Regions from separate parts of the Homo sapiens genome. Here all the other regions are linked to region 3. The links are contacts of gene promoters, found by promoter capture Hi-C in blood cells and fetal thymus (Javierre and others, 2016). All regions are on one chromosome and are shown on one strand. Each heading gives the region's core, a stretch centred on a gene start or on the middle of the fragment in contact. The rest is flanking DNA. Distances are from core to core; before and after follow the strand shown. Region 1 has its middle 250 kb from the start of HIVEP2. Region 2 overlaps LOC153910 (a long non-coding RNA gene). Region 3 holds the start of AIG1 (androgen induced 1). Region 4 has its middle 290 kb from the start of HIVEP2. Region 5 overlaps ADAT2 (adenosine deaminase tRNA specific 2). Region 6 has its middle 270 kb from the start of HIVEP2. Region 7 overlaps ADAT2 (adenosine deaminase tRNA specific 2).

Region 1 (3,800 bases), core at 347-2,846, 370 kb after region 3:
ATTCAAAGTTTTACCTAAGGCTTTTCTTAGAGTTAGATGTCTTGTTTTGAATTCGACTTAGGTTCACACTTAAAGTTACTCTATGTAAAAATGTTCAGACATCCTGAGCAGACATAGAACAACAACAAATGGATTTGATAACAGAATACAAGATAGAATTAAAGATAAAGTCCTTATGTGCTTTGAAGAAATAAAAGATGAGATTTCAAGTCAAGGAAAATAGATTGTACACCTAGTGACAAGACCTCTTTATTTTCATTTTGAAAGATCACAGAGTGACTACAATATGAAAAGATTGTGTGTAGGCTATCATTTCATGCTTGAGAAACAAATAGATGAAGATCATTTCATGTACCACTGGGCTGGGTGTTTAGAGACAAATGTGTTTCTTACCTGCTAGTGTAGACCAGTGAGCAGCAGGAAAGGATATACATTCCCAGCCATGGGCAATCCTTTATCCGCATGTGTGGCCAAGGATTTTTCATACTGTCTTACATTGGCTGGGAAAGTTGACTTCTGAGTTCCCTGACAAATCTGAGATTCTATGACTTTATTAATCATAACTATTAATAACTACAGGTTATATGTTAATAGTTATAGTGGTTATAATTATTAGTTATAATTATTATTTTGTGCAATAGATTCTCAGAATCTGAAGCACCATAGAGGTTAAAAGAGGTAATAGCCATCTTCCTGTCTATAACAGTCTCCTTTTCAACATCCTGGGAGTTATCAACAGCAACTACAGGTTCTGCTCAAACACCTCCAACAAAATAGAACTCCCTAGGTCCCACAACCATTTTTGCTGTACAGTGTTTTCCTGTCATAAGAAAAATAATTTGCATTCACTGTAATAATTTTAGAAAACAAAACCAAAATGTACAAAATAAAAATTAAAAATATCTGTAATACTATCACTCAGAGATAAACACCATGAACATTCTGATGTATGTGCCCAGGTGTGCGTATGTGTGTGTGTGTGTGTGCATGTGCATGCGTGCACATGCGTGCATGGGTATGCACACCTTTATTCTAAAAGAATTGTACTACTCATGTTTTAGAACCATCTTTTATCCTTTTTCATTAAGTATTTGTCCATAATATCACCTTTAAAAGTTCAATAAGCATATTTCGTTTTTAAATAGCTATAATTATTAGGATTTTTCCTTTTATCAAGCTAAACCTTACCTCTTTATAATCTATATGCCTTGCCCCTTTCTCTGTCCTCCAGAGCCAGATGCAATAAAAAGTCTGATCCCTCTTTTGCAGGACAACCCTTTAAATATGTGAAGACTGCTTTCTGGTCTTCCCACCAGTCTCATTTTTAATTTTTTAACTCCCTTATTGAAGTAAATTGGCATATTTAATGTACAGTTTGATTAATTTTAATATAGGCATACACCTGTGAAACCATCACTAAAATCAAGGCAAGAAACATATTCACCTCCTAAAGTTTCCTTGTGCACCTTTGTGTACCTGTGTGTTTGTATCAGGCAAGAATATATATTTATTGTACATACACACCATGGACTATTATGCAGCCATAGGAAGAAACAAGGTCATGTTTTTTGCAGGGACATGGATGGAGCTGGAATCCATTATCCTCAGCAAACTAACACAAGAACAGAAAACCAAACAAATGCTGCATGTTCTCACTTATATGTGGGAGCTGAACAATGACAACGCATGGGCACAGGGAGGGGAACAACACACACTGGGGCCTGTTGGTGGCAAGGGAGGTGAGGGAGAGCACCAGGATAAATAGCTAATGCATGCAGGGCTTCATACGTAGGTGCTGGGTTGATAGGTGAAGCAAACCACCATGGCACATGTTTACCTATGTAACAAACCTGCAGGTCCTGCACATGTATCTGGAACTTAAAATAAAATAAACATTTTTTAAAAAGAATATTCATTTATTTATTTATTTTTGTAGGAATATTTAATGTGATATACTCTCTTTAACAATTTTTTTTTTTTTGAGATGCAGTCTCACTCTGTCACCCAGGCTGGAGTGCGGTGGCGCAGTCTCGGCTCACTGCGACCTCTGCCTCCCAGTTCAAGCAATTCTCCTGCCTCAGCCTCCCAAGTAGCTGGGATTACAGGCACCTGCCACCACGCTTGGCTAATTTTTTGTATTTGTAGTAGAGATGGGGTTTCACTATGTTGGCCAGGCAGGTCTCTAACTCCTGACCTCAGGTGATCCACCCGCCTGGGCCTCCCGAAGTGCTGGGATTACAGGCCTGAGCCACCGCACCCAGACTCTTTAACAAATTTTTAAGTGCACAGTGCAGTTAACTATAGGCATAGTGTTGTAAAGCAGATCTCTAAAACTCATGCATCTTGCATCATTGAAACTTCATACCCATTGAACAACAGCTCCCAATTTCTGCCTCTACCCAGTCCCTGGCACCACTGTCCAAGTCTTTGCTTCCCTAAGTTTGACTATTTTAGCTACCTCATGTAAGAAAAATCATGCAGGATTTTTTCCTTCTGTAACTGGCTTATTTCACTTAGCATAATGTCCTCCAGGTTCATCTATGCTGTTTCATGTGGAAGGATCTCCACATGGCCGAGTAATATGCCATTGAGTGTATAGACCACATTTTTTATCCATTTATCTGCTGATGGACATGTAGGTTGTTTCCATGTCTTGGTCATTGTGAATAATGCTATAGTGAACATGGTTGTGCACTATCTCTTTGAGATCCTGATTTCAATTTTTTTTTTGGATATAAACTCAGAAGTGGGATTGCTGGATCATATGGTAGTTTTATTCAAAAAAATTTTTTAGAACCTCCACAGTGTTTTACATCATGACTGTACCAACTTACTTACATTCCATCACCTATGTGCAAGGGTTCCCTTTTCTCCACATCCTCACCAAAACTTGTTGTCTTTTGTTTTTATGGTAATAGCCAATCTAACATATGTGAAGTGCTATTTTGCTGTGGTTTTGATTTGCATTTCCCTTAGTGATTAGTGATGTTGAGCCTTTTTTCATATACCTGTTGGCTATTTGTATGTCTTCTTTTGAGAAATGTCCATTCAAGTCCTTTGCCCAATTAAAAAAATTGGATTATTTGATTTTTTGCTATTGAGTTGTAGGAGTTACTTATATATATTTTGGAGATTAACCCCTTATCAGATATATAATTAGTGAATATTTTCCTTAATTTTGTAGGTTGCAAAAGAAACAATTGTTTTGCTGATTATTTCCTTTGAAGTGCAGACTCATTTATGTTTGATGTAGTCGTACCAGTCTACTTTTGCTTTTGTTGCCCATGCTTTAAGTGTCATATCCAAGAAATCATTGCCATGACCAATGTCAAGAAGCTTTCCTCCTATTTTTTACAGAAGTTTCAAAAGACCCTGAACAGCAAAAGCAGTCTCGAGAAAGAAGAACGAATTTGGAGACATCACATTTCTGATTTCAAAATATATTATAAAGCTAAAGTAATTAAAACAATATGATACTGACATAAAGACATACATCTAAACCATTGGAATTGAATAGAGAGACCATAAATAAAGTCACTTGTTTATGATCAACTGATCTTCACCAAGGGTATCAAGAATACACAGTAGGAGAGGGTCGTCTCTTTAACAAATGGTTTTGGGAAAACTGGATATTCAAGTGCAATAGAATGAAATTGAATCCTTATCTTACACCATACCCAAAGATCAGTTCAAAATGGATTAAAGACTTAAAGGTAAGATCTAAAAATTTTTTTTTTGGTTTTAATTAGCCTCAGAGGTTTAGGCCTCTTTCATGGTTCACAGGCCCAACTATCATGTTA
Region 2 (3,769 bases), core at 1,032-3,531, 440 kb after region 3:
TCAAATACTCTTACATTGGCATTTAAAACTCATAGCACAATATAAAGCTAAATGGTAAAATTCACTCATAATTTAACTTCTGTTTTGTTTTGTTTTTTGGAGATGGAGTCTCATTCTGTCACCCAGACTCTAGTGCAGTGGCATGATCTTGGCTCACTGCAACCTCTGCCTCCCAGGTTCAAGCAGTTCTCCTGCCTCAGCCTCCCGAGTAGCTGGGACTACAGGCACACACCGCCATGCCTGGCTAAAATTTTTGTATTTTTAGTAGAGACGGGGTTTCACCATGTTGCCCAGGCTGATCTTGAACTCCTGAGCTCCCAAAGTGCTAGGATTACAGGTGTGAGCTACTGAACCCAGCCAATTAAAAATTTTAATTTTAATTTACTTAGAACCACATTAAACAACATTAAATATAATTTAAAACCCCATGATGAAGAAGGAAGGAAACTTTATATTATTTTAGTGCCTTCAATGACTCTTTTCCTGCTTTTTACCAATGAACCCTGCATTTTCATTTTGCACCAGCCGTGCAAACTACGTAGCTATACCTGCTGAACCCAGGTTAGAATACATTCTCTTCACTTGCAAGTCACAATGCCTCCCTGAGCTCTGGTTTGATGCCAGAATTGAGTGGTGATGATTATTAGCCTACAACAAGGAAACAATGAAGCCTTGTTTAAATAGTTTTCACTTTATCTAAGTTGTCATAATCATAATTTCATAGTAAGTATTAATACACCCAAACTTGCCCATCTTTCGTCTGTTCTGGTTTTTAATTAATTTATCTCATAGCCCTGCTCATGAGACAAAATGAGGTAGTGTACAAGCAACTCATAAGACAGTTTATGTTAATTACTGCTGTTTTGGCTTGATTGTTGAAACGTGGTTATCTGCTGTTGAAATAAAAGAGCAGTTCTTTGTCTCAGCTGGAAACAAATGATTAGGATATAGGATGCCTTTTCCAAAGAGAGGAGCTTTTCAAAGAGCACATTGTCATTATTTTGGGAGAATCATTCTGAAGAGACAATATTTGCTCTTTTTTCTTTTCACTTTCAATGCTATTAACATAAATTTGAAAAGATTTTGATAGGCATTCACATCTCCTATGAGGTAGCATATGAACCTGGATACAATTTAGTTTCCAGAACAGTTTGGAGCATTAGCCTTGTGTATCAGCTTGTTAGGGCTGCCACAATAAAGCACATACCAAAAACTTAGTGACAGTCTTAAACAACAGAAATTTTTTCTCTTAGTTCTGGAGGCTGGAAGTCTGAGGCCAAGGTGTCAGTAGGGTTGGTTCCTTCTGAGGGCTGGGTGGGGAATCTGTCCCATGCCTATCCCTTACTTTTAGTGGTTTGCTGGCAATCTTTGGCATTCTTTGTTACGAACAAGCCTTACCCTGATCTCTGCCTTCATCCTCACATAGCATTCTCCCTGAACACGTGTCTGTGCCCCCAACATCCCCTTTTTATAAGAAACATCCCCTTTTTATATAACCTGTCATATAAGGTTAGGGTCGAACCTAATAAGCTTGTTTTAACTTGTTTACCTCTGTAAAAACCTTATCTCCAAATAAGGTCACATTCTCCGGTACAGGAATTAGGACTTTAATATATCTTTTGAGGGGATACAAGTTCTTGGAAATATTAAACTTGGCCAGGATAAGGAATCAAAATCTTCCAGTCTCCATCTGTCTCTCTGGCTTACTATTGAATTCTTCAGTGGAGGCCAGCCTGTAGAGGCCTCATGAGGCTGACACTGAAGTTCTCCTGGTGACAAAGATTAGAGAAAGTTGTGTCCTTCTACTCCAAGACATTGGTCGCCTGAACAGAAGGTCATGCCCCTTTCATCCCACCACACCGTAGTTTCAGACACATGTGTATGTGTGTATGTGTGTGTATTCAAAAGGAGTCAGAAGGACTTGGAAATGTTGCAGCAACTTCTCCCCAGAGTACAGTAGACTTGTGTGGACACCAAATACCACTCCTATCACATGGTTTGATTAGGTTATCTGACAGACCATGTAACAGTCCCTGAAACTTGGAGGGCATTCAGGAGTTTTTTGTTAAATAAATAAAACTAATGAGAGGGAGCTCTGTTTCTTACATACTTTCTCCAACTTTTTACTTCCTTATCTTTTTTCACTGGAGTCTAGACCATGAGTAGAGGGTGGGGATGTATTTATATGTTTAGTTCCTGGTCCACTGTCAGTGGGGTCTACCATTATCCCCATCCCTTGTACTCACAACTCACATGCTTTCCATAAAGAAGGTTGATGCTTGCAGTGCACAGCCAAGTTTACTTGATATAGACCGTCTAGCTTTTTCCTACCCTTAGAAATTGCTTGGACTTAGAGCAATGATTATGCAAGTGTGTGTCTGTGATCTACCTGTGACTGAGGTTGACAATCTCCTTTCTATCTCACTATTTTGCTGCCTAAGCCTTTTTGCTGACTTTGGGTGGCAGGACAGGTTCTTCACCAAACCCCACTTTTAGACATCTATTCCAAATTGAAGAATGAAGTCAGCATGTTATTTTTCAACTTAGTTTGACTTCATGAATGGGAAATAGTTTGAAGGCTTTTTATATGCTAATCTTAGTCTAAATTGAAAAACTGTTCACAAGTTTTATTCATTTACTCATTCATTTACATGTATGTATTTGCATATTCTCTTCACTATATCCATTTAAACACAAATATATTTATACTTCTTATAAGTGAAGATTAGACACCAAGATGAAGAAGGCAAAATACAGTTTCCTAGGTTCGGGGAACATCCAGGCAAAAATATTTTTCAGGATGTTGCAAGTATGGGTCTGGAGTTCAGGAAAGATATTTGAGACTCAATTCTCTCAAGATGATGGCTTGACTCTTGATATTAAATGAGATTACCAGGGAGAGAGTGAAGACAGAAGAGCAAAGAAAAGGGACAAGAGATAAATCATTATGTTAGGCCAAAAGAGACAAAATTATTCAACTTATTCCTGATTTGGTACTTTGATGTCCCTTTCTGGAATTTAAACAAGCTTGACTTAGTGTTAAAATTAAACCACAGTCCTATCTCTTATAAATTTTGTAAGTTTGTAAATCCCTGAGAAACTTCTACTCACCATGACTGACATCCTCATAGCCTAAGCTGGTTATGTCTTGAGAGCCAGGGCTAAAAATAAAGGCTAAAACTTATGTAGTACTTTGTCTTGTACTAGACATTAAACTGAACAATATTTACATGTGTAATATCATTTAATCTTCAAACTAATGCTATAAATCTATCAATTATCTCCATTTTACATATAAATACCAGGAATGATGAGGTTAATTTGTCTAACATTAAATAACTGAAAACTGGCAGAGTGCAGGTTCACACCCTCAGCATCTCATGTGAGAACGTGTGCTCTTAACTATTGCTCAGAATGGCCTCCCATGCCTGTGTCCTGAAGGTTAAGGCAGAGTCTCATTCACTTTTCTAATCTCCTGCTCAGACATTATAGAAACCAATGAAAAATAGTTATTATTCAATAACTATTATACAATGGCACAGACTTTAATTTGAAAGGGTTAAAGTGAAGATTTTTTAATATAAAAAGGAGGATAGGCCGGGTGTGGTGGCTCATGCCTGTAATCCTAGCACTTTGGGAGGTCGAGGCGGGCGGATCACGAGGTCAGCTGATCGAGACCATCCTGGCTAACACGGTGAAAACCCGTCTCTACTAAAAATACAAAAAACTAGCCGGGCGTGGTGGCGGGCGCCTGTAGTCCCAGCTACTC
Region 3 (4,091 bases), core at 737-3,236:
TAAGTAAGATCTGACTTAGGAATGGGATAAGGCAGTGTCCCAAAAGGAGTTTTGCTCACATAGCCCCTCAAAGAATTCTGAAAATCTATGCACATATTTTTAAATAACATCTCAACATCCTTAACATAGTTAAGTGTAAACACTTGAAAAAGGGACATCTTTCTGGCGCTCTATGGGTGGTATGCTTGCTTCATATACATATGCATCAGAACCTCAGGGTTGCAGATTTAGCTCATTCAGTATACAGAAAATGTCTGCTACACAACATAATTGGCAAAGCCAATCCTCATTGACAAGCCAATCAACCCAATAAGACTTTCTGTCAAGGCAACTCCGACATTGTTGTTCAATCAAATATAAAGATAGCCCTGGTGACAACCATCTATCTTCTGGAAGCTAAAAGGAACAGACAGAAAAGCACACCTCAGAGTCTTGTCACGGGCTCCTCACTTGGATGAATGGGGAGAATGAAAGGAGAACTGGCAGGCATCACGCATGTTCAGAGGGAAATTAGTTTCAAGCAGAGTTGGAAGATGAGGATCTGAAAATTAAAACCCTTGCAACATTCTATACCCTGTGAAGTCTTGTGGGCCTAAGGGTATGTGCACAGTTTGGAGACTGCTGGGCAACAGAATTGAAATTCCACTCTGAAAGTATCTAATATAATGCAAATATAAGGTGTTATTTTTAAACCAAAAGCCTCTCTGCATTTCTTTGAGGCATCCTAAGCCTTTGGAAATTTTTAAAACAGGTATCATGTTCTCTTCATCAGAATGGAGGGTCAACAAGAGATTATAATCTTGCTGGTGTAGCCAACCAACTGTATAGTCTTGGATAAACAGTTCAGGGAGTCCCAGGAATTGGTTCTACAATTTCTCTGAGTGCTTTAGAACTTCATTGCTTTTGTTTTAAGCCTCTTCCTAATAATCTTTTAGCGTGTGTCTTAGTCACCTTTACCCTGAAATTCCTAGGTCCATCCATGAGTTCATTATTGGGCCTTATGCCCATGTTCTGTTCTCCAGGGAGGTTGAAGAGGGCCTTTTAGTGCCAGAAATAGAAAAACTTTCAAAATGATATACTAATAATAACCTGCACCTGTCAAGATTATCATATTGTGCCAACAGAGGAGCTGCTTATGCAAACTACTGTAAATTTGTACATGGGAAGACAGAGAAGTGTGTACAGTCACCTTGGAAATGCACTTTGAACATCTCTGTCTCCTAATATGTACGGGGTAAAGGTTGAAAGTAAATTATTGACAATGGGGGAAAAAAACAGATGCAAAGAAGACAACTTTATTAGGTGCTTTCTCTCCCTTATGAGAAGGATTTGGTTCTTTCAGGTGAAGTTCCAAATCACTAGACAATACCCAGTTTCCTTCAGTTGCAACAAGTTCATCCCACGGTGGGTGCTCTGAAAAGCACCTTGAGGGCGAATGGGTCTCAGGCCATTCAGGATCAGGTCCGATGCTTTTGTTGAAGATTCTTCCCGTGTCACCTCTTAGAAGCAGTTCGGTGTCCCCCTCCAAAGAGCCCACCACCTGGCTGCGCCCCACCTCCATTTGTCCCCCAGTTGCCAGGTAAGGGTACCCAGCTACCAGGTAACGGTGAGTGGTTCAGAAGGTGCCGCTGCGGGGGCAGCCAGGCCTTCACACGCAATCACTGGGGAAGAGGCGAGGACACGGGTGGATGCTGGAGGCGCGCACGTGCGCAGGTGCTCGCGCATCCACACACACACACACACACACACACACACACGCACACACAGGCACGGGGTGCGGGGCGAGCAGGGGGAGGGGACGGCCTTACCAGATCAATGAACGTCAGGAATTTCCAGCTCCCTCCGTAGGTCTGGTGTGAGGGCATTTCGATGGCCTTGTAGTTACACAGGATAGAGCAGTAAGACAGCAGGATTGCCATCCGCAGCACCTGGCAGGGGACAAGCGCCATGTTCGCCAGAGGCCTGGACCGGCTGGGCGGCAAGGAGGGCGGGCGTGAGGGAGGCGCCGGGCGCGCGGGGGCGGGCGCCGTGGGAACCCGGGCGCGGGCGCGGGCGCGGGGCGGGGCGGGGCGGGGGCGGGGGCGGGGGCGGGGCGCGCGCCCCCGGGGACTGGCGCGGCCGCGAGCGCCCGGGTGACCTGTACTGGCCGGGCGCGGTTTGCGGACGCTCTCCACTGCCGGCCGCGGCCTGGCAGGCGGCGTGTCGTCATCTCTTTCGTCACCTTCGTCATTCTGCTCCTGCGTTCGCAGGGTCCCGGGACACCCGGCCAGGAGGCGCCCCCTAGGCATCCCAGGTGTGGATGCGACCTCTGAGTGCTACGAGGGCTCGGGAAGTGCGCGCTGATCTCCAGGGGGAAGCGGGCCCTGTGGCTAGTGGGCGCCGGGCCGGGCGAGGGGGCGGGGAACCTAGACTGAAGGAGTGGACCCCAGTGTCCACAAATGTTCCCGCCCCGGAATCGCGGTGACGCTTCCTGGGGTAGTTGCAGTTGGCCGAGAGCTGGTGCCCCGTGCGGAGGGATCCGGTGGGGGTGTGAACGTGGGGTGTAAACCCGAGCACAGGCAGCCGCGAGTGACTTTCAGTATTTTGGGGCAATAAGGTTTTCAGTGTTGACAAACGACTGTCAATCACTAGGAAACTCTCTCAATTCTGCTTTCAATGGGTAGGCTACGCAGCACTTTTCCATGACAGATTGAATAATGTCATATCAGTATATAACATCAGCTAGAATATGAACTTTGGACAAGAGGTTTATAGATAAAAAGCTATAAAGAAAGGATTTTCAAATAACTTTCTGCCACAAGATTGCATTCAGCTTTAAAAAATTCCAATTTTGGATGTAAAACCCCTGCGTGTAATTTAATACTAATCATCTGGTTGTTAAACTGGTTTTGCCCTTACTTTTTTCTTACACTACACTACCAGGGCTTAATGGAAGGAAAATAAATATAAACTGGAGTCCCTCCTGCCTTCCAGTAAATGTTGTCACACTGAAGTTGCATCAGTCTGTGGGCAACATTTTCATTTCAGCCAACCAGTTGCAGGTTCGGATTATGAAAAGGCAACATAGGTATTTCCTGTGGATCCATTTAAAACAGGTGTCCTCTTCAAATAGTCTCTGAGTCAGAGGATGTGGAGGGAGGGCTGGTGGGGAGAAGCATAGTGCTAGAGGTAAAGAGAAAGTAGCAAGCAAGCCATGGATGTTTTCCTGAATGTTTCCAATCAAGCTCTAAACTAAAATGAAGAGACCCACTAGATTTTTTTAATTGGCATTATAATTATGCTAATAGAACTGATGTCAGAAGAAGATTCTACTAGCATTAAAACGATGTATTATTGATGATTTTTGGTTAAATCTTAATGTAAAAGTTGGCTTTATTTTTTTAATTGTGCATCCTTGGTACATGGTTATAAACTGCCAAAAAAATAAAAATAAAAAAGAGTAGATCTATTGAAGATCTACCTACCTTAATAATGTGTCTGGAATTGGTTCCTGCCGGTAGATTAGTGGTCTCAGTGACTTCAAGAATGAAGCGGCAGACCTTGGTGGTAAGTGTTACAGCTCTTAAAGATGGCACAGACCCAGAGTGAGCGATAGCAAGGTTTATTGTGAAGAGTGAAAGGACAAAGCTTCCACAGCATGAAAGGGGACTGGAGCGGGTTGCTGCTGCTGGCTGGGGTGGCCAGCTTTTATTCCCTTATTGTCCTCTCCAGTGTTCTGTTTCTGTCCTATGAGAGTGCCCTTTTTTCAGTCCTCCCTGCGATTGGCTACTTTTAAAATCTTGCTGATTGGTGCGTTTTACAGAGTGCTGATTAGTGTGTTTTACAGAGTGCTGATTGGTGCTTTTTACAGAGCGCTGATTGGTGCATTTTACACTCCTCTTGTAAGACAGGCAAGTTCCCCAAGTCCCCACTTGTCTCAGGAGGTCCAGCTGGCCTCACCTCTCAATAGAGCCTTAATAAAGTTTTATGAGTTAATGTGATATTTGCAAAGTTTGATATACCCTTCCTACTTTACATGTTAGACAATTATTAAGACTCCCCAACCCCATTGTTACAAAATGAAATAATATTTTCATAAAGCCATTTTTAAT
Region 4 (4,011 bases), core at 1,449-3,948, 400 kb after region 3:
TTAGTTTTATCATCCTGCTAGTTCTCTGGTGAATTAGGTAAAACAATTTTTGGATACCTGTTCACTTTACATTTATTGCAGTATCAAGTTCTCGACACTTTGAAAATCATATTTGATGTGGCAAAGACATTGAGGTCATACTATTTTCTCTGCAAGATAATTAAATATTCATCCCGATTACAGTTACTCATGTGTTATGGGTTGAATTTTGGGGCTTACTAAATTCATGTGTTGGAGTCCTAACCCCCAGTACCTCAGAATGTCACAATAGCAAAGACATGGAATCAACTTAGATGCCCATCAACAGTGTACTGGATAAAGAAAATGTAATATATATACACCACAGGACACTACATAGCCATAAAAAATGAACAAGATTATGTTGTTTGCAGCAACATGAATGCAACTAGGGGCCATTATTGTAAGCAAATTAACCCAGAAACAGAAAACCAAAGAGCACATGTTCTCACTTATAAGTGGGAGCTAAATATTGAGTACACATGGACATAAAAATGGGAACAGCAGACACTGGGAACTACTAGATGGGGGAGGGATGGAGGGGACAAGGATTGAAAAACTACCTATTGGGTACTGTGCTCACTATCGGGGTGACAATATCATTTGTACTCCAAACCTCAGTGATATGCAATTTACCCATGCAACAAACCAGCACATGTACCCCATGAACCTGAAATAAAAGGCTTTTTTTTTTTTTAAGTACCTCAGGATGTGACCACTTGGAGATAGCATTGCTGCAGATGTAATTAGTTGAGATGAGGTCACTGGGGTGATGAGCCCTAATCTAGTATGAGTGATGGATGCCCTTATAAACAGGGGAAATTTGGACACAGATGCACACACACAAGAACACCATGTGAAGATGAAGGCAGATACTAGGGTGTTGCTTCTATAAGCCACAGAATGCCAGCAAACCACCAGAAACCAGGGGAGAGGCAAGGAACAGATTCTCCCACACAGCTCTTAGAAGCAACCAACCCTACTGACACTTCAATCTTGGATTTCTAGCTTCTAGAGAGATGATAAATTTTGGTTGTTTAAGCCACCCAGAAGATTGTGTATTGTTATGGCCAGCCCTAGGAAACTAATATACCCAATTAACTGCTTTACACCTGAGATTGTGTGAGTAACAAAATACTTGACTATGTGAGTGACACAAAGGTTTGAAATATGGTCCTTATCCCTGAAAGGCTTATGATCTTCATGGTGAGATATGTTAACAGAATTCAAGTGAGGCTAGGGCGAGGAGTGATTCACAAATTTTTGAAAGGAATTGATCTAATAGCTGGACCAAATCAAATAGAGAAAACTCTCTAACAATACAGCCCTGGAGATAGAAAATATGGTGGAGATATTAATGAAAGCACAGTATTGTTATAGCATTGAAGTGAATGTGCTTATCTGTTGGTGAGGGAAATGGGATTCAATCTTTCAAACCCAAGGCAAGAACAAATTCATACTCACAAGGGAAGTAAGGAAGGACAAAATGAAGGTGAACAAAACATTAATGTGGGTGGGGAGATGGAGGGAAAACAAAAACTAATGTGTATCGAGTATGTATTACTTGCTAGACTTTTTTTTAGGTTTTTTACTTTTTATACATTCCATCTCATTGAATCCTCCCAGTAACCTTGTTAAATACCCATTTAGAAGTTAATAAAATTGAGGCTCAGAGGGATTAAGTATGTTGCCCAAGGCCACACAGGCTCAGCTAACAAGTGGCAGAACAGGGTTCTGAACCTAGGCTATCTGGCTCCAAAATGCATACTCATTTTACTACCTTCTATCATATTATAATGAAATGGCATAAATATAACACAAGTAGCTGAAGAGTAGTTATAGTTATGCTGTTTACTAGAGCTGCCCATCAACTTCAGTACAGCGTACATGGATGACTGAGCTTCCTGGCTCCTTTGTGGTTGGGTGGGTCATGGATTGTTCCTGAACAATGGTTCCGGCTTTTGTGAAAAGATGTCATTCGTGGGCCAGAACTTTGTCACTAGGGAAAGATCTTCCAGAGCTCTGATTTCTCTGCCTCAGCAATAGTAGAAGCGTGTGTTATGATATAGACTCTATCTACCTGTGTTCCTGAGAGACTGTGATGAACTAATATCCTCCCACTGACCTATACTCGATATATACCATTAGTGAAAAGCAAGCTTTGGCTGGTTTAAAGTTATTCTGACTGATAAAGTAACATACATTTAAAATTTTTTTTTGGTAAAATAAGTAGTGTAGGAACTGAATGTCCCTTCATCTCTAAAATTCTATGATTTAGGCAGGGTTTGTCACTATAAGAGCATTGCATTCTGCAAGTATGAAAAACATTTGTAGGTATGTAAAGGAAGTGATTAAATTACTATTTATAATGAGTTCTAATGTCAGTTTTTTGTGTTCAATCATCGTATATGTGACAGTGATGATAAATCTGCCCTTTAATGGTGCAAGGTGTCTGCCTGCCCCACGCAGGTCTCACTCTTCTTGCACCCCATGATGATGAGGAGGAGGACAGGCTTACACAAGAAGGGGCTTTTGTGTGGCACCAAACAGTAGTGACAGGAGATTTGAAAAGGTAGGGAAATGAATCAAAAGTTTCACAGACTCAGAGGCTATCACAACTAGTATACGCTTTATTTTTGAACACTAGGCAGAGATAATAAATGCGAATACACGTGATGAGAAACCACCTTGGGGTGGTACACCTGAAGAAATTTCATGAAAAAGACTGAACTTGAACAGAGACTCAACAACTTGGAATGAAATAGACTAGATGGCTTGTGGGAAGCAGAGGTTGGAGCAAAGTAATGGGTCAACACATAGAGAGGGCAAAAATGAGGTGTAGTCAGGGAGCAGAATGTGTGTGAAGGGATCGGAAAAATAAGGTGGCCATAGATAAGCATTAAACATTTAATTTCTAAAGAAAAGAACACCAAATCTATGCAATATTCATCAGATTTACAAAGGCATCAGCATGCCACGTGATCCCAGCAGGCCTGAAGTCTTAGGCGTTGAGTAGCAGGGGTGATCAGTGGTATATGAATGCTTTGTGTGAGCCGCAAATGAGCTCACTCAAACTGTGCACGAGGGAATTCACATGAGTCTGGAAGAAGCAGCTGGAAATGAGGAGCTCCCTGATCCAGCTTCCCAAACACCTGACTCAGGGGGCATAGGACTATGCAGCCTCTCACCTGGAGAAGCTTTCTGGGGCTGTGAAATCCCCAGGGAAGTGACAATGTTTGGTCAAGGTTAGGAGGTGAAAGGAATAATCATGGAAGTAGAATTGGCTAACCATGGATAGGGAGTTCCAGAGAGCACTGAGGAAAGGTTAAGAGGAGAAGAAACTTGTTGCGGGCTTGGCAGAGGAAAGAGGCAACATAGAGCAATATGAGGATAAAACGTTGAAACAGGAGAGAGGATCAGAACAAAAGGGGCAAAGTAGGTGAGGCATGGGGGATTTAGTTTGGCAGTAGATGCCAACTTAGGCCCAATAGTCCCCTGGTAGCCTCAGAAGGCATGGCCCCGAGGCCCATCAAGAGCTAGCTGTGCTGGAGTTCCCTGTCCTTCCCAGGAAAGAGAGTCTCTAGGGAGATTGCCATCAGCCTCTTTTCAATGAGTCAGCTGAGGCTGGGATGGACAGTGCATATCCCAAGCACAACTTCCTTGAGGTTTTTCATGTTGTCCATAAGCAGAATAGGAAACTACACACTGCTCTGAATAGGACGTGCAATCCACCACCTGCTGCTCAAGGCTATTACCAAGACTGTACATGAAGCAAGTAAGGAATGAACAACTTCACAAAAAACTTCTTGGTACCTCAGAGATCTTCCTGTGTGTGGGGAAAGCCCATCTTAAAATACCATCATCTTTAGAAAGAATTGTAATTCTTGAGAATATCACATCAATAATGATTAAGTACAACACAGGTAATTTAGACTTAAAAAATGATCTTTGTTGCTATTTTAAGTTCATGCTCTTTTCACTATTCTGGGGAAT
Region 5 (3,883 bases), core at 434-2,933, 360 kb before region 3:
ATTGACATTTTTAAATAATACAGTCATTTTGCCTCCTTTCTGTTTTCTTCTTCTTTTTTTAAATAATAGAATGGTCCTTGTTTTAAATTTATTTGATATTTTCTTGTGATTAGATTCAGGTGCTGGTTGATGTTAAGTTCCTCACAGGATATCACATCTGGAGGCACACAAAGGCCGTCACACCAAGGTGATGTCAATTTTGGTCATCTGGTCAAGGTGTTGTCCTATTCCTTCACTATATAGTTACCTTTTTTCTCTGTTGCAATGAATAAGCAGTCTGTGGGAAGAGGAGCTGTTACATTTTAAACAGAAAATGTATTTGACACTGATGGAAAGGAGAGGAGGAAAATTAATGACATAAATTTCAAAGCAACTATTAAATTATTTGATTGCATTCTTCCTCTTTTACTGTCTGCCAAAATTGATAAAAAAAATTTTTCTAATAAGAATGTTTTAAATAGTGATATCTTAATAAGCATCAAAATTAAGCCTGAGAAATAAATTCTTTCCTTCCTAATTTCCTCCTCAGCAAAAGTAATAATTATATAAATTTCATTATGCCTGATAAGATAGGGTTTTGGAAAATAGACCTAAGATGTTTCTGATACTGCAGATGACCTATGGTGATCCAATGGGATAAACACTCTAGGTAGGTTGTCATTTGGTCATAAAATATGAGTTATCTTGGGTTTCCATAGAGACATCTAGACTTAAAATGTTGTAAGCACTGCTACTTTCAAAATGTCAGTAAAAATAGCAAAAGCCAAAGCTCTTGAAAAAATTACTTAAATCTTTTTTAAAAGTAGTATAGCGCCTTGTTAAAAATCTGTGGTGATGCCAAAGCTTGTCTTTCCCAGTGGTCCTACGTGAACTGGCCTTATAGCCCCAGGGAAACCAGACACCAGGAATTGGTTTCTCTGCCTTTTGGCAAAGGAATAAGACTACATTGACTTCATCTATGAAGACAACTGCCAACTATTTCCTTTGTAAATTGCTAATTTTGTGTAGTGAGGAAAGGAGCGATGGGCGACGTGATTTTTATGGATTAGACTGGTGAGTTCTGCTGAAAGTTTGACATCTTTAGGATCTTACATTTTCTTCAAGTTGAGCTAATGAAAACAGGCTCGTGACTATTTATCACCTGATTTCTAAGTGGATATTGGGTTGAACACCACATATCCATGACTATTAAGGAGGCTTCATGGTGTAGTTTGACAAAGGCTCTCTCCTTGACCAAACTTCAGTCAGGCCCTAAGTCCTCTTTTTAACCAGGCCTCCACCTTGGCCCCCATTCTTGATGGGCCTATACAGCCCAGCTTTAGCAAGAATCCTGCTAAGCTAGTTTAGAGAGAATCCCACATCCCCAATATCTATGAAATTTCTCATCCCCTACTTTTGATGTGTAAGTCCTTGGCCTCCCTTCAACGAGAAGCCTGTTAAGTTCATTTTGCAAGAACTCTACTCTTGATATCTCCTCTTAGTAATTTCCTAATCACTGACCCCCTCACTCTGCCCATTAGTTATAAACCCCCACATGTTCTGGTTGTATTCAGAGCTGAGCCTGATCTCTTCCTCTTGTTGGGATAGTTTTAAAACCTGCGATAGTTTTAAAACCTATCACTGTAGTCCTGAATTAAGTCTTCCTTACCTTAACAAGTGTCAAAATAAATTTTTCTTTAACATGTTGAAGCATGAACTTGAGAATCTAGAGCAGGAGTCCACAAAGTATGGCCCATGGGCCATATCCAGCCCGCTGCCGGTTTCGGTACCACTCATGACTTAAAAATGGGTCTTACAATTCTGAGTGATTGAAAAAAAATCAAAAGAAGGATAATATTTAGTGACCCATGAACCTTATATGGCAATCAAATTTCAGTGTCCATAAATAAAGTTACATTGGATGACAGCCATGCCCATTTGTTTCTGTGTTGTCTGTGGCTGCTCGTGTGCTACAATGGCAGAGTTGAGCAGTGGTGACAAACCATGCGACTCACAAAGGCCTAAAATATTTAGCGTCTGGCCCTTCGAGAAAATGTTAGCTGCCCCTGGTCTAGAGTAGGTAAAAGGCTGAGATTGGAAGCTGCTTGTTCAAATTCTGTGATTGGAACCGAATGATGTGGCTCATTGTACAGCTCATGGTGAATTGCTTCAGTACCATGGTTTTGTTTTTTCCTTTTGAAAAGTTGGTCTATAAATGTAAAGGAAAAATCTAAGATACCAAAATATGTTTTCTGGCTTAGAATGTTTTATTTCCTTGTATACATTTTAAGAGAGTGGCAAGGAGAAAAGATAATGTATCATTTTATTTGGGTTTAGAATAAATAATACATTTTATTTATGATCATCATGTTTAAAATATTATTTTCTGTTACTGTCTCTGTTTTACATCAAGTAAGCTGAGGCACAGGGAGATTATGTAACTTGCCCAAGGTCACAGAGTGCTAAGTGATCACATCACTCAGAAGGAGCTAGTTAAACCAATGTAACAGCCTTCAAGTTTTAGTGGCTTAGAACCAAAGCTTATTTTTCTCATGCCTTGCTTCTTGTCCATCTCAGGTCAGGCCAGGAGCCTAGGCTAAAGGAAACTTCACCACCGGGGACATCAGCTGCTGTGGCCAGAGAAGAGAACATGGTGAATAATGCTTCATACCTTAGGGCAGGGCTTCTCAAACTTAAACGTGCATAGGCATCTCCTGGGGAGCTTATTAAATTCACATTCTGATTCAGGAGGTCCTGGAGGGCCTGAGATGCCATGTTTCTATCAACCTTCTAGGTGATGCCCATAGTGCTGGACCATGGGCCACACTTTGAGTAAGGAGGGCTTCCTGGCTTTTGCCCAGAAGTGACACATCACTTTTGCTCTCAAAAGAATTAAAGCAAGTCACATGGCCATGCCCAACTTCAAGGCAGCAGATAATATAATCCATTAACTACATCAGGGAGAAGAGAATTGGAATTTTTGTGAACAGCTCCAATGAAGAGCAAACAATGTGAAGCTAGGATCTGAATTCAGGCAGGCTGGCCCCAGAGTCTGTGCTCTTAATTATAACTATATACAGTCATGGGTGTTGGTCCATTCTCTATAAAGAGAATGCCTGCCAGGCAGACAGCTAGTCAGGGAGTTACAGTTGACTTGTGTGACTTGACACCGGGTGACTTAGGCAGCTTTAGAGTTCAGTGCAGCAGTTCTCAGCATGGTGCTGCAACTCTGAAGTGTTTCAATTCATTTTTTTATCTTAAAGTGCCAACATTTATGAATTATTGTTAAATTAAAAACATAGCTGGGAGCGGTGGCTCACACCTGTAATCCCAGCACTTTGGGAGGCCGAGGCAGGTGGATTGCTTGAGCTCCTGAGTTCGAGACCAACCAAAGCAACATGGTGAGGACCTTGTCTTTACAAAAAATACAAAAAATTAACCAGGGTGGTAGAGCGCTCCTGTAGTCCCAGCTACTTGGGAGGCTGAGGTGGGAGGATTGCTTGACCCAGGAAACAGAGGTTGCAATGAGTACCTCTGCGCTCCAGCCTGGGTGACACAGCAAGGCAACGTCTCAAAAGAAAAAATTAATTTTTTTGAGACAGAGTCTCGCTCTGTCACCCAGGCTGGAGTGCAGTGGCGCGATCTCGGCTCACTGCAAGCTCCGCCTCCCGGGTTCACGCCATTCTCCTGCCTCAGCCTCCCGAGTAGCTGAGACTACAGGCACCCGCCACCACGCCTGGCTAATTTTTTGTGTGTTTTTAGTAGAGATGGGGTTTCAGTGTTCACCAGGATGGTTTCGATCTCCTGACCTCGTGGTCCACCCGCCTCAGCCTCCCAAAGTGCTGGGATTATAGGCATGAGCCACCCCGCCCAACCTTTTAATTAATTATTTTTAAAAACATAC
Region 6 (4,005 bases), core at 235-2,734, 390 kb after region 3:
GTGAAGAAGTCAATGCATTTGTAAAAGACTGTTAAAGGAGACAGGAGGAATTAAGGAGGGATAACACATAAATTAGGGAAACATTGGCTTTAAGCACAGAATACAATTTCATGCAAATATAGTTCAGATAGTTCTTCCTGGGGCACATTTTTGATTTTTATCTTAGTTTTTTTTTTTTTTTTAAATGTTTCCCTTATGGATGTACCAATTAGGAAGGAGAAATGTAATAATTTTTCATTTCTACTTTTCAAGGAGTAATTCGTTTTGGTTTATTCACTTGTGAGATCAAAGCCACTTTGTTGTTGAATTTAATAAATCTTAATAGACAAGTCCCATTTATTTACCTGTAAGCCCAAGCTGATGTGGTGTAGTATTCCTTCCCTGGCTGGCTGCTTTTTTGCTATAGAGAGATTCTTTCCTCGTCATTTTCTCCCTAAAATATAAGCTTCCTTAGGGCAAATTCTTGGCTTACTCCCATCGTATTCCCAGCACCTAAGAAAATATTGCACAGATACTGAACTCTCAATAAATATTTGTTGAAAATTTGAATAGATAAATGGAATCAAGGGATCTTTAGTGCCTCTTGGGCATAAATAGAAATTATTGTGCCAGAATGTCCTGGGTGTAGACCTGAAGATGAATTAAATAGTTTTGTAACCTACATTGACTGTATTAAAAATTTACTCATTTGCTTTTTTTTAAAATTGACATGTTATAATTATACATATTATGGGATACAATTTGATGTTTGATACATATATATTGTATAATGATCAAATCGGGTATAACCATCACCTCATGCACTTATCATTTCTTTGTGGTGAGGACATTTAAACGCCTCTCTTCTAGCTATTTGGTAATATACAATACCTTACTGTTAACTGTGGTCACGCCACTGTGCAATGGAACATCAGAACTTATTTCTTCTATCTAGTTTTAACTATGTACTTGTTGACCAAATTTTCTCCATCCTCCCCTCCTGCCTCCCCTACTCAATCTCTGGTAACCACTGTTTTACTTTCTGCTTCCAACTCATCCACTCCTTTATTTATTCATGAATGTATTCTGTGGATCAGGCACTGGGTTAGGCATTGAGAACAACAGGATTTATAAGCCCCTGCTAAGAATTTAATTTACTGAAGATTAAAAGGCTTATTCAAACTTAGGCAATACGATGACACACAAGATGGACTGGAACTGCCAAAGGAGAGTGTAGACCCATTTATGGGGCACTGCAGGACATGACTTTGTCTTTTTAATGGGTCTTGAAAAGCCAGAGACCCTCACAAGTTTTTGCAATTAGACTGGCAACTACTTCAGGGCAGAAATAGTGTTTTTCCTTGTATGTTTTGTAGAAGGAAGAAGCTTTCTTCTAACTGGAAATCATTAAGTATATGTTGGTTGATTGAGTTATACTGATAACAACACCCTAACCCGTTGAAGAGATTTAAAATGGTAACAGCGATTCCAATTAGTCTTCCATGGAAAGCAGGGGTGTAAATGGCTTTTCTCAGGCAAAACTGGCTTTATTGGGTGCCCTTAAGATATCTAGGGAAAGACATATATTGCAGAGCTTCCGATAGTCTGAAAGTAAGAAAGCTTGAATATCTCCATGGAACTTTTCCTCTGGAGTGCCTATAAATTCATTTCCCTGGACTTGGATATAAATGAACTGTGCCTCATTTGCATTGTGTAACCCACTAAAAAGGAAATCACCCTCCACATAAAAGAAGATGTGGAGAAAGCATTTTCCAAGTGGACCGAATTTTAAATGTTTGTCTTATGTTATCTGAAGAAAGTAATACCTTCCTTCTTTTCTTTAATGTACCACCATTTGACAGGGGGTGGTTAGTGGTAGCTAAATTTTATTTGTGCCCCCTCCCCAATAATAGATTTCTAATTAAATAAATGTTAGATCCAAAATAGACGAAAGCATGAGATGGAATAAAAGACCCTTGCAATAACATAATGAGAAAAGTATTTTTAAACTGAGTTAACACTGTTTGAAAAATGAGGCAAACTTGATTCTGTCAAATCTGGGGCTCTCATGAGGTGAAGTTTTTGTACACACAGGCACAGATGTGTGCTGACAGATATTCAGAAGCGAGAGAAGATCATTCTGTGGAGAAACAGACATGAATTGGTCATATAAATCTTTGGAACAATCATAGATGAGTCAAGGCAAGTTTTTACAATGAATGCATGTTAACAAAACATTTATGATTTAGCCAAGGTGTCTCAATATTTAAAAATTGTACCGATTAGCAAGAAAAAGAGGTAAGTGATGATAAATCAGTTTTTCTCAAACCCAAAGACAAGCAAGGAAGGGGGGAAATAGCCAGCCTCTGTAATTTATTTACAGTAGAATGTGGAGTAATCAACTTGTCATTTTTTTCACTTTAAGATCTTTGAAAACCATAAGTTCTTAGAGACCTGGAATTGATCCTCTTTTTAGACATCCTTGTCTCTGATATAGGTTATAATAGACCATAAAGAGCAAAGGTGCCAAGTAGAAAAGGATAATCCATAAGAGAAAGTAAAGCTAACCTGCCATGCTTGTTTAAATGTGGGTGGCTCTGCCCTGGGAAGTCTCAAGGGACCCAGGCTCATCCTGTCTTCTTGCTCTGTTGCCTTCACACGTGGCTTCCATCTTGTGGTATGCTCACACTTCTGCCAGCAGAATGGAGGGCATACTTCTTCTTCTATAATAGCATGATCTGAAAATTGTACACTTCAACTTATCTCAGCTCCCATTGGCCAGAACCTAGTTTCAGGGCCACACTTAGCTGCAAGGAAGCCTGGGAAAGGTAGTCTTTGGCTGAGTGACTGGGGATCAGCTAAAACTCAGGGGAAAGAGGCAGAGAAAAGATACCAGGAACAATTAACAGACTCTGCCACTCAGCTTGAGAGAGGAATATGGGCAGAGTCTTGAAACTGAGATGGTGCAGGTTGAGCACCACGGCTGGGGTATGTGAAATGGAGCAGTGCCAAATAGAGTAAGAGGTCAAGCTGTGGTCAATAGATGAATTGATGAAGATTAATAAGGTACAAGTATTGACAGCTTACTCAGGACCAGATACTATCCTAGGTGGTTTGTGTGAACTCACTCATTTAATCCATCAAGCAACCCTTTCAAATAAGTATGATTATTACTTCCATTTAAGAGATTAAAAAAAAGAAAAAACGCTGAGGAACAGAACAGTTTAAAAACTCACTCAAGATTGTCATATTAGTCTGTTCTCATGCTACTAATAAAGACATACCCCAAACTGGGTAATTTATCAAGGAAAGAGGTTTAATGGGCTCACAGTCCCATGTGACTGGAGAGGTCTCACAATCGTGGCAGAGGAGACTAAGGAAGAGCAAAGGCACTTTTTACGTGGTGGCGGGCAAGAGAGCTTGCGCAGTGGAACTCCCATTTATAAAACCATAAGATCTCATGAAACTTATTCACCACCACTAGAACAGCATGGGAGAAACTGCCCCCGTGATTCAATTATCTCCACCTAGCCCCACCCTTGACACATGGGGATTATTACAATTCGAGGTGAGATTTGGGTGGGGACAAAGCCAAATCATATTAGTCATATACCTAAAAGCTGCCAATGTAGAAAGACAAACTTAGGATGAACAGATATTTAAACATTAAGGTCAGCATTGAGTCCATATGAAAGTGGAAAGGACATGTCTCCCCACTGTGCTTATTTTGGATAATCTCTTCAGATGGGGTTTATAATCCTGTAGCACAGCCCATAATTTGGCCACACAAGGAAAGATTTTTGAAAGCTGTCTTCCCTATTCATCATGACACTTCTGTCCTAAGATTCTTCCAAAGACATCCTCCGTCCATTTCCCTTCCTAAGCAGTGTTCAGTCTGTGATGAGGTCTTCTTGGCTCCAGTAAACAGTCCATCAATCCCAAGGCAAGGCCACTTCTGCCTAGCAAACCTCTGGCATTCTAGACAATGGTGAGGATAGGTACTTTCCCTACCTTACACTGGAACCA
Region 7 (3,836 bases), core at 726-3,225, 380 kb before region 3:
ATTTGCTCTCTGTTTCGGACAGCAGTGGAAGGCATTTCAGGAAAAAAAACTGTGTTACTCAAAATAAACATGAAGATAATATTGAGAGGAGTGAAATGAAATAAATTTGCTAGACGGAAAAAGAGAAAAATCCAAAGGAAGGAATGGAAGGCACAAACCCAGTAACATGGTGGCGTGGGTGCTATCTCCAGGTGAACAAGACAGAACTTGCAGGCAACATGGAATCTCATCTCCCATCCCACTCACGTCCTTTCCACTCGGCCCTGCATTCTCTTCTGCAGGTTTGAGATGGCCCACATAGCCAATGTAGAGCTCTTCAGGAGATATTTTTACAGAAAATCCTGATCACATGGCCTCCATTTGTTTATTCTCTTGCCGTTTTTGTTTTTTTTTTTAACTTTTTTTTTTTTTAAGACAGAGTTTCACTTTGTCGCCCAGGCTGGAATGCAATGGCACAATCTGGGCTCACTGCAACCTCCGCCTCCTGGGTTCAAGCGATTCTCATGCCTCAGCCTCCCAAGTAGCTAGGATTACAGGCACCCATCACCATGCCCAGCTAATTTTTGTATTTTTAGTAGAGATGGGGTTTCACAATATTGGCCAGGCTGGTCTCAAACTCCTGACCTAAGATGATCCACCTGCCTTGGCCTCCTAAAGTGCTGGGATTACAGGCATGGGCCACTGTGCTCAGCCTATTTTTTACTTTTTTTAGAGATGGGGTCTTGCTGTGTTACCCAGGCTGGAGTGTAGTGGCATGATCATAGCTCACTACAGCCTTGAACTCCTCTTGCCATTTTTTTTATCCTTAAAATTTCCATGTCTCACTCTCTTGCCAACTGTTCTCTCTCATTTGGTCCCTTGATTCACTCTAAACTCAAACCCTGATAAAGCAGCTGATCGGTGAAGTGTCTGTTGTTACTAAAGTAGAAGTTAGAGGCAGAACAGTGGCAGAGAGCCCTGGAATCTGGCCCTTGGTAGGTGCTCCACAAATGTTTGTTGAACAAATGAATAAGTGGAGCCAGGTTGTCTATGCCCTAGTCCCAGCTCTCTCACATGCGCTAGTGAGAGATATATACATGTATAAAAAAAAATCTCCCTGTGCCTCAGTTTCCTCATCTGTAAAATGGGGAAGATCATTATAGGCTTGTAAATGAAATGAATTAATACTTATAAAATGCTTAAATTAGTCCTGGATCAAAGTAAGCTTTCAATAAATTGTAAGCTCTTATGTTCAAGCTCTCAGAACCAGAATACTCGAGATGCAGACAAAACATTACCTCTCTTAAGAGGTTTGTTGGGGAAAGTATAGCTGGAGTTAAAAATTTAACCTCTTAGATAAGTCACTGTTCAAGCTACTGGTTTTCATCTCCACCATTCCACCTAAATTGCCACCACCTTGCTGAATTAGACACACTTGACCACCCTTCCTTCTTGGCCTAGTGTTTTTCTGGGATTGTCCGTAACACCAAATATTTCTCTAAACTCACTAAACATCTCTTTTTAATTCCCATTGCAAAATCCTTTTTGTTTACCTGTACTTATTTTTTAACTTTCATTTTGAAATAATTATAAGTTCACAAGAAATTACAATAATAATATACTGGGAGGACCCAAGTGTCTAGTGTCCTTCAGTGGTAACATCTTGCATAGCTATAGTTCAGTATCAAAACCAGGAAAAATGCATTGGGAAAACTGCAGAGCTTATTAAGATGTCATCAGTTTTATTTGTACGTGTGTGTGTGTGTGTGTGTGTGTGTGTGTGTGTATGCGTGCCTATGCAATTTTGTCATGTTTAGCTTTGTATAACCACCACTGGAACTGTTTCACTACCACATGGCTCCCTTGTGCTACCTCTTTATAGCTGCAGCTTCTAATCTGTTCTCTGTCTATAATTTTATAATTCAAAAATGCTATGTACATGAATCTGTAACCATTTGGCTTGGCTTTCTCCATTCAGCATGATTCCCATGAGATCCATCCAAGTTGTTGAGATTATCGATAGTTCATTCCTTGTTATTGCTGCATTGTGTCCCATGGTACAGGTGTACCATAGTTTGTTTAGCAGTTCACCCACTGAAGGGCATTTGAGTTGTTTCCAGTTTTTGGCTATTACAAATAAAGCTGTTATGAATATTTGTGCACACAGACATACATTGTGTGAGCATAGGTTTTCATTTCTCTGGGATAAATGCCCAAGAGTGGAATTGTTGGGTCATAAGTTAAATGCATGTTTAGCTTTTTAAGAAACTGCCAAACTATTTTCCAGTGTGGCTGTACCATTTTATATTCCGACCAGCAGTATATGAGTAATATCACTTCTCCACAGCCTTGCCAGCATTTGATGTTGTTTTTACGTTTCACTTTAGTCATGCTGATGGGTGTGTAGTGATACCTCATTGTGGTTTTAGTTGACATTTCTCTACCGGCTAATGATGTGAAAACATCTTTTCGTGTACTTATTTGCTATGTGTGTTATCTTCTTTGGTGAAATGTCTGTCTTTTGCCTTCTCATATAGTTTGGATATTTGTCGCCTCCAAATTTCATGTTGAAATTGAATCCCTGGTATTAGTAGCAGGGCCTGGTGGGAAGTTTGGATCATGGGGAGGATACCTCATAAATCATTTTTATAGTGGCAAGTTCTCACTATATTATTATCATGAGAATATACCATCCCCTCCTTTCTTTCTTCTTCTCTTACCATGTGATGCCTGCTCCCATTGCCTTCTGCCATGAGTGGAAGCTTCCTGAGGCCCTCACTGGAAGCAGATGCTGATACCATACTTCTTGTACAGTCTGGAGAACTGTGAGCCAAATCAACTTCTTCTCTTTATAAACTACCCAGCCTCAGGTATTCCTTTATCGCAGCACAAATAGATGAAAACAGTCTTTTTCTAATGGGATTATTATTTTATTGTGGAGTTTTAAGAGTCCTTTATATAGTCTAGATACTAGAGTGTTGCCAGAGATGTGGTTTGTAAGTTTTTTCCTATTTTAGCATGTTTTTCTTCCTCTTTGCTGCATGTATTAGTTTCCTATGGCTGCTGTAACAAATTATCACAAACATGGTGGCTAAAAACAACACAAGTTTATTCTCTTATAGTTCTGGAGGCCAGAAGTCTGAAATTTTAGTGAGCCCCAATCAAAGTTTTGGCAGGGCCGAATAACTTCTGGAAGCCTGCCTTTTCCAGGTACTGAAGTGACATTTATGACCCATCCCTCCATCTTCAAAGCCAGCAGTGCAGCATTTTCAAATCTCTCTCTCTCTCCTTCCGTTATCACTTCGCCTCTTGCCTTCTGTGGGTGCCTTCAGGACCCACCTGAATTTGGGATAATCTCTCCATCTCAAGATCCTCAACAAATATTTTTTGCATGAATAAATGATTTGTCTCTTCTGTGTACCTTGATCTCTGTGTAATTCTACACTTACCTTAAATAAAATTCTTAGTATAATAATTGCCATAGCTACACTGGTAGTTAGCATTTCCATTCTCCTTAACTGTCCGTCTTCTTCCTGGCTTTCTTCTCTATAGTAGCCTATGGTGCATTTGTCTATATTAACCAAACCTCGGGACTCTTCAAGCCTTTTGAACTTGCATAAACTGGACATGCTTTAACCACTGTCACAGAACTGGGACACAACCGGCCTGTGGATAGTTCATAAAATAGTCCTGAATGCAGTCTTACTGCATCAGATACTGTCTTCTCACATCTCTCCATGCCCCATCTCTGACCCACCAACCAGATGGAGAAAAGAGAGGCCCAGTTTGCTCCTGCTGTGGGCGTCTCCTTTTTCCTCTAATGGCCAAATGAAGAATAAGTGTCCGTTGAACATGGT

The links. Contacts are between HindIII fragments. The CHiCAGO score rates a contact against its expected background, and 5 or more counts as called.
Region 1: a fragment that was not itself captured here is called in contact with the fragment with the promoter of AIG1 in region 3 in 14 of 17 cell types (total B cells, naive B cells, M1 macrophages and 11 more); the score reaches 12.1 in total B cells.
Region 2: a fragment that was not itself captured here is called in contact with the fragment with the promoter of AIG1 in region 3 in 1 of 17 cell types (total B cells); the score reaches 5.7 in total B cells.
Region 4: a contact is called between a fragment that was not itself captured here and the fragment with the promoter of AIG1 in region 3, in 1 of 17 cell types (total B cells). The highest score is 5.2, in total B cells.
Region 5: a contact is called between a fragment that was not itself captured here and the fragment with the promoter of AIG1 in region 3, in 4 of 17 cell types (M0 macrophages, endothelial precursors, naive B cells and 1 more). The highest score is 6.9, in M0 macrophages.
Region 6: a contact is called between a fragment that was not itself captured here and the fragment with the promoter of AIG1 in region 3, in 2 of 17 cell types (total B cells and naive B cells). The highest score is 9.8, in total B cells.
Region 7: a fragment that was not itself captured here is called in contact with the fragment with the promoter of AIG1 in region 3 in 1 of 17 cell types (M1 macrophages); the score reaches 5.3 in M1 macrophages.

What each region holds. Positions count from the first base shown.
Region 1 is chr6:142,688,311-142,692,110 of GRCh38, reverse strand. No RefSeq gene overlaps it. Among named protein-coding and RNA genes, the nearest start is that of HIVEP2, 250 kb to the left of the region's middle. The HindIII fragment of the contact is 3,484 bases long and covers 1-3,338 here.
Region 2 is chr6:142,620,235-142,624,003 of GRCh38, reverse strand. The region is part of intron 1 of LOC153910 (a long non-coding RNA gene); the gene reads left to right. Among named protein-coding and RNA genes, the nearest start is that of ADGRG6, 320 kb to the right of the region's middle. The HindIII fragment of the contact is 1,497 bases long and covers 1,533-3,029 here.
Region 3 is chr6:143,058,784-143,062,874 of GRCh38, reverse strand. It overlaps AIG1 (androgen induced 1), which reads right to left and starts at 1,986. Exons shown (of 6, transcript NM_016108.4): 1 at 1,809-1,986. The coding sequence starts at 1,949. RefSeq lists enhancers at 1,447-1,496, 2,097-2,226, 2,052-2,990 and silencers at 1,687-1,756, 2,007-2,096. The HindIII fragment of the contact is 5,617 bases long and covers 1-3,629 here.
Region 4 is chr6:142,654,924-142,658,934 of GRCh38, reverse strand. No RefSeq gene overlaps it. Among named protein-coding and RNA genes, the nearest start is that of HIVEP2, 290 kb to the left of the region's middle. The HindIII fragment of the contact is 1,038 bases long and covers 2,180-3,217 here.
Region 5 is chr6:143,421,293-143,425,175 of GRCh38, reverse strand. It overlaps ADAT2 (adenosine deaminase tRNA specific 2), which reads left to right. Exons shown (of 6, transcript NM_182503.3): 6 at 1-2,344. Among named protein-coding and RNA genes, the nearest start is that of ADAT2, 27 kb to the left of the region's middle. The HindIII fragment of the contact is 1,676 bases long and covers 846-2,521 here.
Region 6 is chr6:142,670,681-142,674,685 of GRCh38, reverse strand. No RefSeq gene overlaps it. Among named protein-coding and RNA genes, the nearest start is that of HIVEP2, 270 kb to the left of the region's middle. RefSeq lists enhancers at 2,525-2,764, 1,709-2,908. The HindIII fragment of the contact is 234 bases long and covers 1,368-1,601 here.
Region 7 is chr6:143,440,406-143,444,241 of GRCh38, reverse strand. All of the region lies in intron 1 of ADAT2 (adenosine deaminase tRNA specific 2), which reads left to right. Among named protein-coding and RNA genes, the nearest start is that of ADAT2, 8.4 kb to the left of the region's middle. The HindIII fragment of the contact is 1,537 bases long and covers 1,207-2,743 here.